3 separate regions of the Homo sapiens genome follow, and all the other regions are linked to region 3. The links are contacts of gene promoters, found by promoter capture Hi-C in blood cells and fetal thymus (Javierre and others, 2016). All regions are on one chromosome and are shown on one strand. The core of a region is centred on a gene start or on the middle of the fragment in contact, and the rest is flanking DNA. Distances in the headings are between cores, read along the strand shown. Region 1 overlaps PITPNC1 (phosphatidylinositol transfer protein cytoplasmic 1). Region 2 overlaps ABCA5 (ATP binding cassette subfamily A member 5). Region 3 holds the start of SLC16A6 (solute carrier family 16 member 6).

Region 1 (2,944 bases), core at 194-2,693, 840 kb after region 3:
GCGTGGTGGCGCACGCCTGTAGTCCCAGCTACTTGGGAGGCTGAGGCAGGTGAATCACTTGAACCCAGGAGGAGGAGGTTGCAGTGACTCCAGCCTGGCGACAGAGTGAGACTCCATCTCAAAAAAAAAAAAAAACCCCAGCAATTCCACTCCTTAAAGTATCTTCCCAAGAGGAACGAAAGCACATGTCCATCCAAGAATTGTATACAAATGATCACAGCAGCAATATTCACAGTAGCCCCGAATTAGAAACAAATCTCTATCAACTGGTGATGAATAAACAAAATGTGGTACATCCCTATAATGGAATGCTATTAGCAGTAAAACAAGAACCAGCTATTGGCCAGGCATGATGGCTCCCGCCTGTAGTCCCAGCACTTTGGGAGGCTGAGGCAGGCAGACTGCTTGAGCTCAGGAGTTCGAGACTAGCCTGGGAAACATAGTGAGACCCCCGTCTATACAAAACAAAAATACAAAAATTAGCCAGGTGTGGTGGCATGTGCCTGTAGTCCCAGCTACTCAGGAGGATGACGTTGGGAGGATCACTTGAGCCCAGGAGGTGGAGGCTGCAGTGAACTGTGATTGCACTCTAGCCTGGGTGATCACAGTGAGACCCTATCTCAAAAAACAACAACAAAAAAAAAACCCAACCACTGATGCATTCAACAACACGAATGAACTCAAAAACTTTATGTTGAGTAAAAGAAGCCAGTCTCGGCCAGGCGTGGTGGCTCAGGCCTGTAATCCCAGCACTTTGGGAGGCCGAGGTGTGCGGATCACGAGGTCAGGAGATTGAGACCATCCTGGCTAGCATGGTGAAACTCCATCTCTACTAAAAATACAAAAATTAGCCAGGCGTGATGTGGGCACCTGTAGTGCCCGCTACCCTGGAGGCTGAGGCAGGAGAATGGCATGAACCCGGGAGGCGGAGATTGCAGTGAGCCGAGATCGCGCCACTGCACTCCAGCCTGGGCGACAGAGCGAGACTCTGTCTCAAAAAAAAACAAAACAAAAAAAAAAAAGGTCAGTCTCAAAGGACTACATGTTGTATAATTTTTATACGAAATTACTAGAAAAGACAAAACTATAGAGACGTAAATCACATCACTAGTTGCCGGGGATCAGGGTAAGAGCAAGAACTGACCACAAACAGGCAAGGAGGATGTTTAGGGGGGAATGGAAAGTTCTAAAACTGGACTGCGGTGATGGCTGCACAGATGTATGGATTTACTAAAACTTAAGAGCTTTTGTTGTTTTACTGAAACTTATTCATTTTACACTTAAGATAGGTGAGTTTATCATGTGCAAAAAAGAATTTTTAGCCAGGCACGGTGGCTCACACCTGTAATCTTAGCAGTCTGGGAGGCCAAGGTGGGTGGATCACCTGAGGTCAGGAGATCGAGACCAGCCTGGTCAACATGGCAAAACCCCGTCTCTACTAAAAATACAAATATTAGCTGGGTGTGATGGCGCGCGCGTGTAGTCCCAGCTACTCAGGAGGCTGAGGCAGGAGAATTGCTTGAACCCAGGAGGCGGAAGTTGCAGTGAGCCAAGATCGTGCCACTGCACTCCAGCCTGAGTGACAAGAGTGAAACTCTGTCTCAAAAAAAGGAAAAGAAATTAGATTCTGATATGGGCTACAGCTGAACCTTGAAAACATGCTAAGAAAAAGACGCCAGATACAGAAGAACACATAATATTGATTCTACTTTTATGAGGTACCTAGAATAGGCCAATTCATAGAGGCAGAACATAGGATAAAGGTTACCAGAGGGTGGGGGAAGGGGACATTGGGGAGTTAGTGTTTAATGGGTGGAATTTCTATTTGGAATGATGAAAAAGTTCTGAAAGTGAACAGTGATGATGGTTGCCCAGCATTGTGAAAATACTTAATGCCACTAAATTGTACAATTTACAATGCTTAAAATGGGCCGAGCATGGTGGCTCACACCTTCCCAGCACTCTGGGAGTCTGATGCGGGTGGATCACTTGAGCCCAGGAATTTGAGACCAGCCTGGGCAACACAGCGAAAATCTCGTCTCTACTAAAACTACAACAAATTAGTGGGCACGGTGGTGTGCGCCTGTAGTCCCAGCTACTCGAGAGGCTGAGGTGGGAGGATCGCTTGAGCCGGAGAGGGTGAGGCTGCAGTGAATTGTGATCACACCACTGCACTCCAGCCTGGGTGACAGAGCAAGGCTTCGTCTTCAAAAAAAAGAAACTTAAAATGGTAAATTTTTATCTTATACGTATTTTACTACAGCTTTTTTTTTTTTAACGAAGTCTCCCGTGCACCTTCAGGAGGAAGAGGGGCCTGTGACTTGCCTGTGGGCTCACTTTCAGGTGGCTATTTCTTCATCAGTTGAGTTCTTAACTGTCTCTAATTGATAGCAATTGAAGAAAACGCAGTTTGCATTCACACAGCCCATTGTCCAAATGCCTAAAGACATTAATTTGAAAAATACTGCAAGATTCATGAAACTGATTCTAAATTTACTTCTAAATCATAAGAGCAAACCTGAAATGTGGTTTTAATTGGGTTTACAGGAAGTATAAGTGTTGTTTATGTGACTTGTTCTTCTGTTTAACTGTTGGTAATCACTGGCTACTGCGCTTATCTCATTGCCAGACAGACAAGCAGTTAAGTAATTAAAATATTCAAAATCTGGCTCAGTGGCTCACCCCTGTAATTCCAACATTTTGGGAGGCCAAGGCAGAAGGATCGCTTGAGGCCAAGAGTTCAAGACCAGCCTGAGCAACATAGTGAGACCCCCATCTCTGCAAAAAGAATTTTTTTAAAATCTGAGCTAACAGAAAAAGAGTTTGTTTCCAATGCTTTCATTTTAACACTAACTGTGATAGAGGCATCAAAGAATTAACCTTTTAAAAGATAAATTAGCTTTCGTATTTGACTGTTTGGACAGCTAGCTGTATATGACAACTT
Region 2 (2,942 bases), core at 21-2,520, 970 kb before region 3:
ACAGAGAGATCCTGTGTACTCTTTACATTTTGTCCCAATAATAACATCTCGTAAAATTATAGTACAATGTAACAGGGTATTGGCATTGACACAGTCAAGATACAGAACATTTCTGTCACCAAAAAGATTCCCATTTTTTGCTCTTTCCTAGCCTCTCTGACCTGTGGCAACCACTACTCTGTTCTCTATTTCTGTAATTTTGATAGTTCAAAAATGTAAAATGGCATCACAATAAGTTTTCTTTTGGGATTGGCTTTTTTCAAATAGCATTTTTTTTGAAGTTCATCCTATTTGTATTTATCAATAATCCATTCCTTTTCATTGCTGAGTAATATTCCATGGTATGGATACATCACACTTTCTCTAACCATTTGCCTGTTGAAGAACATTTGGATTGTTTTCCGTTTTTGGCTTTTGTAAAGTTGCTGTGGACATTTGCATACAGGTTTTGTGTAAACATCATTTTCATTTCTCTGAGATAAATGCCCAAGAGTGCAATTGCTGAATTATACATGTTAATTTTATAAGAAATTGCCAAATTATTTTCCAAGATGAGTGTTCCATTTTATGTTATCCCTACCAGCAGTGTGTGAATGACAAAAGTTTGAATTATCCAAAATAATTGCATTTGCCTTAGCTTATGTTTTTATTCTTGTATTAGAATTTACATGTGTCTCATGTTCTCATAATTCATTGAACAGAAAACTTGCCAATTTTGTTCATTTCTCCTCTTCTTAACTAATCTTTATATTTCATGCTTCCTTTATCTCTGTGGACAGCTCTTTCATATAATACCTTCAGTTATTAGGAGTAGATATTTTTATAGATGACAAAAATCAACTAAATAAAATTGTTAGGTATTTGGATTTATGAAATATTTTAGAAATTTCAAATTAAATGAGAACATGAGATAGGAAAACTATGATCATTTGAGTTTACCATTAACAAACTTGTGACGTAAATAACACCTTAGATTTATATGCTATACCAGTGTACACAAAAGGCTTTGAACATTTCAAAAGCTTTCACTTAAGCTGAAAGCCTTATGTAAATCCAAAGGATACTTGGCAATTTATTAGTGTTTTTATTTATGAAAGGTTCATTTTTAAAACTGAGAATTCTTTTTCTGTGTAAACATGTCTTCCCATCTGTTTCCACAGTATTTCAAAAGTAGTAATGTTTTGGCTATTTATTATTTGTATAGCTGTAACCCCAACCGCCATGACACCTTTTGCTTTATTTTAATCTCAGTTTCTTGGCAGCACTACTGTATTCTGATTCTTAAAAATTTTGTTGAAATTGTTACATCTCAGAAATAATGAGCCAAATTAAAGGCTAAATGGAATTTGTATTTAGTGTGAGGGGGACTTTTATTACCTATAAGCCTGGAATGTAACCTTTTTGGTTTTGCTGATGTAAAATTAAGAGATCTACAATAATTTACTAATTTATTTGTGTGTTTCTAAAGTGTCTAAAATTATAATAAATTGTTTTTCATTTTTTTTAGATCAAAGCTTATACTCAACTTAAACTTTCAGGTCTTTTGCCATCTGCATATTGGATTGGACAAGCTGTTGTTGATATCCCCTTATTTTTTATCATTCTTATTTTGATGCTAGGAAGCTTATTGGCATTTCATTATGGATTATATTTTTATACTGTAAAGTTCCTTGCTGTGGTAAGTTAACGTTAGTTGTACTCATGCTATTTATAGATAGAATGTTATTTAAAATCTGTTATAAACATGACAGTTGACTTATTGCATAATTTGGTTATTAATTTGTTAAAGAAAATAGAGCAAGTGTGTCTGGTATTTAATACATGTAATCATTTTATATGATAAGTGACTTTTAAAAACAATAACTTACCACCATTTTAAAATAATTTCTTGAAACTAAAGTGATCTTTCATGTAGACCACCTACTTGGGTGTAATCAGGAACGTTTTAATATATTCCTTCCTTAAAATGCCTTCCTTCGTTTTTCTTATGCCTGAAAATAATTTCACAAAGGATAAGCTCTTTTATTCCATAGTTTAAAATATAGCTTAACATTTCTCTATCTCAATAATGGGCAGGCTGCGAGCCAGATGAAGAACACAACTCCATTTACAATAGCCACAAAAAATTAAAATACCTAGGAATACATCTAACAGAGGAGATGAAAGATCTCTACAGGGAGAACTACAAAACATTGGTGAAGGAATTCAGAGATGATACAAGCAAATGGAAAAAAATTTCATGCTCATGGATTAGAAGACTCAATATATTAAAGTGGCCATACTGCCCAAAGCAATCTACAGATTCAACACTATTCCTATCAAACTACCAACATTATTCATCACAGAATTTTAAAAAGCTATTCTAAAATTCATATGGAACCCCAAAAGTACCCAGATGGCTAAAGGAATCCTACATAAGCTGGGCGCGGGGGCTCATGCCTATAATCCCAGCACTCTGGGAGACCGAGACGGGTGGATCACGAGGTCAAGAGATCAAGACCATCCTGGTCAACATAGTGAAACACCATCTCTACTAGAAATACAAAAAAATAGCTGGACGTGGTGGCATGCGCCTGTAGTCCCAGCTACTCAGGAGGCTGAGGCAGGAGAATCGCTTGAACCGGGGAGGTAGAGGTTGTGTTGAGCCAAGATCGTGCTACTGCACTCAAGCCTGGGCAACAGAGAGAGACTTTTTATCAAAAAAAAAAAAAAAAAGGAATCCATGTAAAAAGAACAAAGCCAGAGGCATTTCATTACCTGACTTCAAACTATACTATAAAGGCTCCAGTGACCAAAACAGCATGGTATTGGTACAAAAACAGACATGTAGACCGATGAAACAGAATGGAGGACCCAGAAATAAAGCCACACATCTATAGCCATCTGATCTTCAACAAAATTGATAAAAATAAGCAATAGGAAAGGACTCTGTGTTCAATAAA
Region 3 (3,159 bases), core at 660-3,159:
GCAGCAAGAGCTAATGGGTACTGAGGCCTTACCAAATGCCAGTCACTGCGATCCGCACTTTACAAGTACCATAAATTAAACCCTCCAATTCTGGGAATACCACCTCCATCCCCATTTTACAGATCTGGAGAAATTAACGCTCTACGAGGTTAAATTACGCCTACAAGGTTGCAAAGCTGCTCAGCGGCCCCTTGGCTGTACACTACTGGCCATACAAGGCACCCTGTACCAACGAATCTTCTCCCCACTTACACAACCAGAACTTGTCAACGGCAAAGGATGGCATTTAACTCAGGAGAGCCTATCCCAAAATGGTGAGAGAACTCAGCGAGCAAGGAAGGATTTTTATTAAAATTCAGATCGCCGACTCCTCCCGGTGGCGACCCTCCGTGCATGCACTCCCAAACTAGGCTCTCTTGAGTTTCTGACATCAGAACCACATTCTCCGAACCCCAATGAAGGCAGCAGCCGGCGCCAAAGTCTGCATACGAATGCAAATAACATGGCCTTTGCTTCCGAGCAGTTTCCAAATTTGCCCTCGGGATGTGAGGTAGAGACCAAGAAGCTAAGTTTGCGCCCCCGCAGGCTCTGAAATGTCTAGGATCTGACACATGCTTTGTCCCCATGAGGAGCTCCTGAGATTTCGCGTGCATCATCCGCTTAGTTCACGGTGACCTTGGGGTCGGGGACTACGGGATGAGGGGCACGGACTGTCTAAACCTCCAGGTCCCTTACAGAGGGCTCCCCGCGGGTATGGGAGCCATGCACCTGTGCCGACGCCGCCACTGCCTGGAGGGTGCGCGCGCGCCCCGGGCCGGGGATGCTGACTCAGCCCGGCTGCTCACATTCCTTTCGCGCAACGCGGATGCTGTTGCTGCCGCTGCTGCCGGTGCAGCAAAGTGGGGGAAGCAAGGCACCCGCAGCGGCCCGGCCGCTCGCTCCCTGGGGCCCACTGCGACACTCCCTCCCCACTGCCGGAAGGGGAACTGTGGGGGTGCGCGAGTTGACGAAACTGGGGGAAGTGGGCGCTGCAGGAGGAACTCAGGCGCCGCGCGCGCAGCTCACACCCAAACTGGAAGGAACCTGTTCTGCCCGGGGCGGGCGCGAAGCCGCCGCAGCCGCGAGCGCCGCGCGGGATCAGCCCCGGCGCGCGCGTGTTCCCCCTCGCCGCTAAATCCCTAAATCCTCAGGGCGCGGGCGGGACTGGGCGGTGGGCGCGCCGGGAAGGCGCCCGGGGGTGGGGACGGGGACCCGCGCGCTCGCGCCTGGCCGAGGTGCTCCGAGACAGGATGCAGGCACCCCCAACACCCTGCACGCTCGCGCTCCTACTAGCGTTGCAGCAAAGCTCCGGGGTCTGGGCGGGTCACGCGCGCAGAGGCGCACCCGGGTTGGGAGATCGGGGCGTTGTGCCAAGGACCCCGGCGGCGCTGGCGGGGGCGGCCCGGCCCCGGACCGCGACGCGGTTACCTTTCGTGACCCCCAGCCCAGGCGGCAGGCTGGCGGGCGCGCGACCGGCGCGGCTCAGGTCCACGTGGGACGGCGCGCGCGCGCCAGGCAGGCCCCCTCCTTGGCTGCGCTCAGCGCTCGCAGCACATGGTCGGCGGCGGCGCGCCCCCGAGGCCGGCGGAGACCGGCTGCAGCCGGTATAGGATAAGAGCTAGGCAGCGACGCGGGGCCGGGGCGCGGGCGGCAGCACGCACGGCCCGGGTCGCAGGCGGCCGGGGTGGGGGGCGGGGGGAGGGTGTGGCTCGGGTGCCCGAGTCGCGGGAGTGGGTGGAGGGCCCGGGCGCTCGGGCCTCACCAGCCCGAGCCAACTTGCGCTAGAGTCGGGCCCGCCCCCTAAGGGGTTAATCCTTTTCTCATGTTACCGAGCGGCTTATAAGGAGGGGGAGGCCAAGCCTCCGCCTTATTGGGAGCCTTTGGGGGTTTATTCTCTTCCCTTCTAACTTGGTGAGTTGGTTTATTATTTTACATGTTTAAAAGTTTGATTGTGGGATGTGGGTTGTTTTTTAAAAAATATGTGTTGGGGCCTTTTTTTGTGATGGGAGGCGGAGGAGACCACTGAACATCTTCACATTTTGGAGAGGTTATTCCCAAAAATATTCGCTCTGACAGTTAGGAATGCCCAGGGCCACCGGGATGACGCGCTCGCGCCGGTGTGGGTAGCTGAGAGTTGAATGTCCGTGACCCTGGTACAGTTGGGTCCCGGAAGATACCTAAAGGCACGCCTGGCCTTTGAGTGCCCCCTGCCCCGGGTTGGGGGCTCCGGGACGTCGGAAGAGTCGGGGGCTCCAGGCTCAGCCCCTCCGCGGATTTTCCGCATGAAGTTGCCTGCGCGTCGCAGGAGCGAAATGTCAGAGGTACCTTCCTACCCCAGGCTGGCGCGCGCACGCAGGCCGGGCACTGAGGCAGCGCGAGGGAAAGTGGGGCTCCCTGCCTCCCCCGACCCCCAAACACAGCACTCCCTGCGGCGGCCACCGTTTGTCCCCAGCGGGAAGCCGGGGATTTCCCGGCAGAGCGCGGGTCCTCCACCTGGACTGTCAGAACTGTCAGCGGCTGACGGCCGGTCCCGCGCAACTTCAAGGTTCCCGGGCTGCCAACCGCAGGAAAGCGCTGGTGTCGCCAAGCAGTTCCGTAGCAAGGGAAGATGGTTTTGCAGAGGAAATGGGTTATTTCCTTCTAGGTTGTTGTCGTCTTTTCTTTTTATTCCCCCCACCCTAGCAAGACAGGTCATAGAAGTTTGTTAGGTGGCGTATATAAAATGTCACCAAACATGGGGGGCGTCAGTCTTAGAAAAAGCTCCCCGGAGCCAACTGGGGAAGAGCAATTACAACTTGTCAACCTGGAAGCCGGTTTTGTTTGCACGGTTAGACACTCCGTGCCAGCTCCTTCTCGCAGGAGATGGTTTCTACCCCGGGAATGAGATTTCTCAGTGATCTGATTGTTTTTGCAAATCATGGTAAGATAGGTGTCTTGCTTGTAAAAAAGATGCCAAGTGCTTATGCTGAAATCTCTAAACCATGCATCTCCCCATGTCCCAAGCACCGTTATGTGGCATTTTTGGGGTCAACAATACATCCGGCCAGATGATATAATAGAAACCCCTCTTCTCATAATTAAGGGAAGAGTGTCCAAAATAGGAACTTACAGTGTGTAAAT

The links. Contacts are between HindIII fragments. The CHiCAGO score rates a contact against its expected background, and 5 or more counts as called.
Region 1: a fragment that was not itself captured here is called in contact with the fragment with the promoter of SLC16A6 in region 3 in 1 of 17 cell types (non-activated CD4 T cells); the score reaches 6.3 in non-activated CD4 T cells.
Region 2: a fragment that was not itself captured here is called in contact with the fragment with the promoter of SLC16A6 in region 3 in 1 of 17 cell types (erythroblasts); the score reaches 5.6 in erythroblasts.

The regions. Positions count from the first base shown.
Region 1 is chr17:67,449,708-67,452,651 of GRCh38, reverse strand. The region is part of intron 1 of PITPNC1 (phosphatidylinositol transfer protein cytoplasmic 1); the gene reads right to left. Among named protein-coding and RNA genes, the nearest start is that of MIR548AA2, 20 kb to the left of the region's middle. The HindIII fragment of the contact is 3,703 bases long and covers 1-2,944 here.
Region 2 is chr17:69,263,471-69,266,412 of GRCh38, reverse strand. It overlaps ABCA5 (ATP binding cassette subfamily A member 5), which reads left to right. Exons shown (of 39, transcript NM_172232.4): 24 at 1,508-1,678. Among named protein-coding and RNA genes, the nearest start is that of PRO1804, 30 kb to the right of the region's middle. The HindIII fragment of the contact is 492 bases long and covers 1,025-1,516 here.
Region 3 is chr17:68,289,877-68,293,035 of GRCh38, reverse strand. It overlaps SLC16A6 (solute carrier family 16 member 6), which reads left to right and starts at 1,909. Exons shown (of 6, transcript NM_004694.5): 1 at 1,909-1,950. It overlaps ARSG (arylsulfatase G), which reads right to left and starts at 1,541. Exons shown (of 12, transcript NM_001267727.2): 1 at 1,468-1,541. RefSeq lists an enhancer at 454-683 and silencers at 1,543-1,717, 1,084-1,773. The HindIII fragment of the contact is 8,812 bases long and covers 1-3,159 here.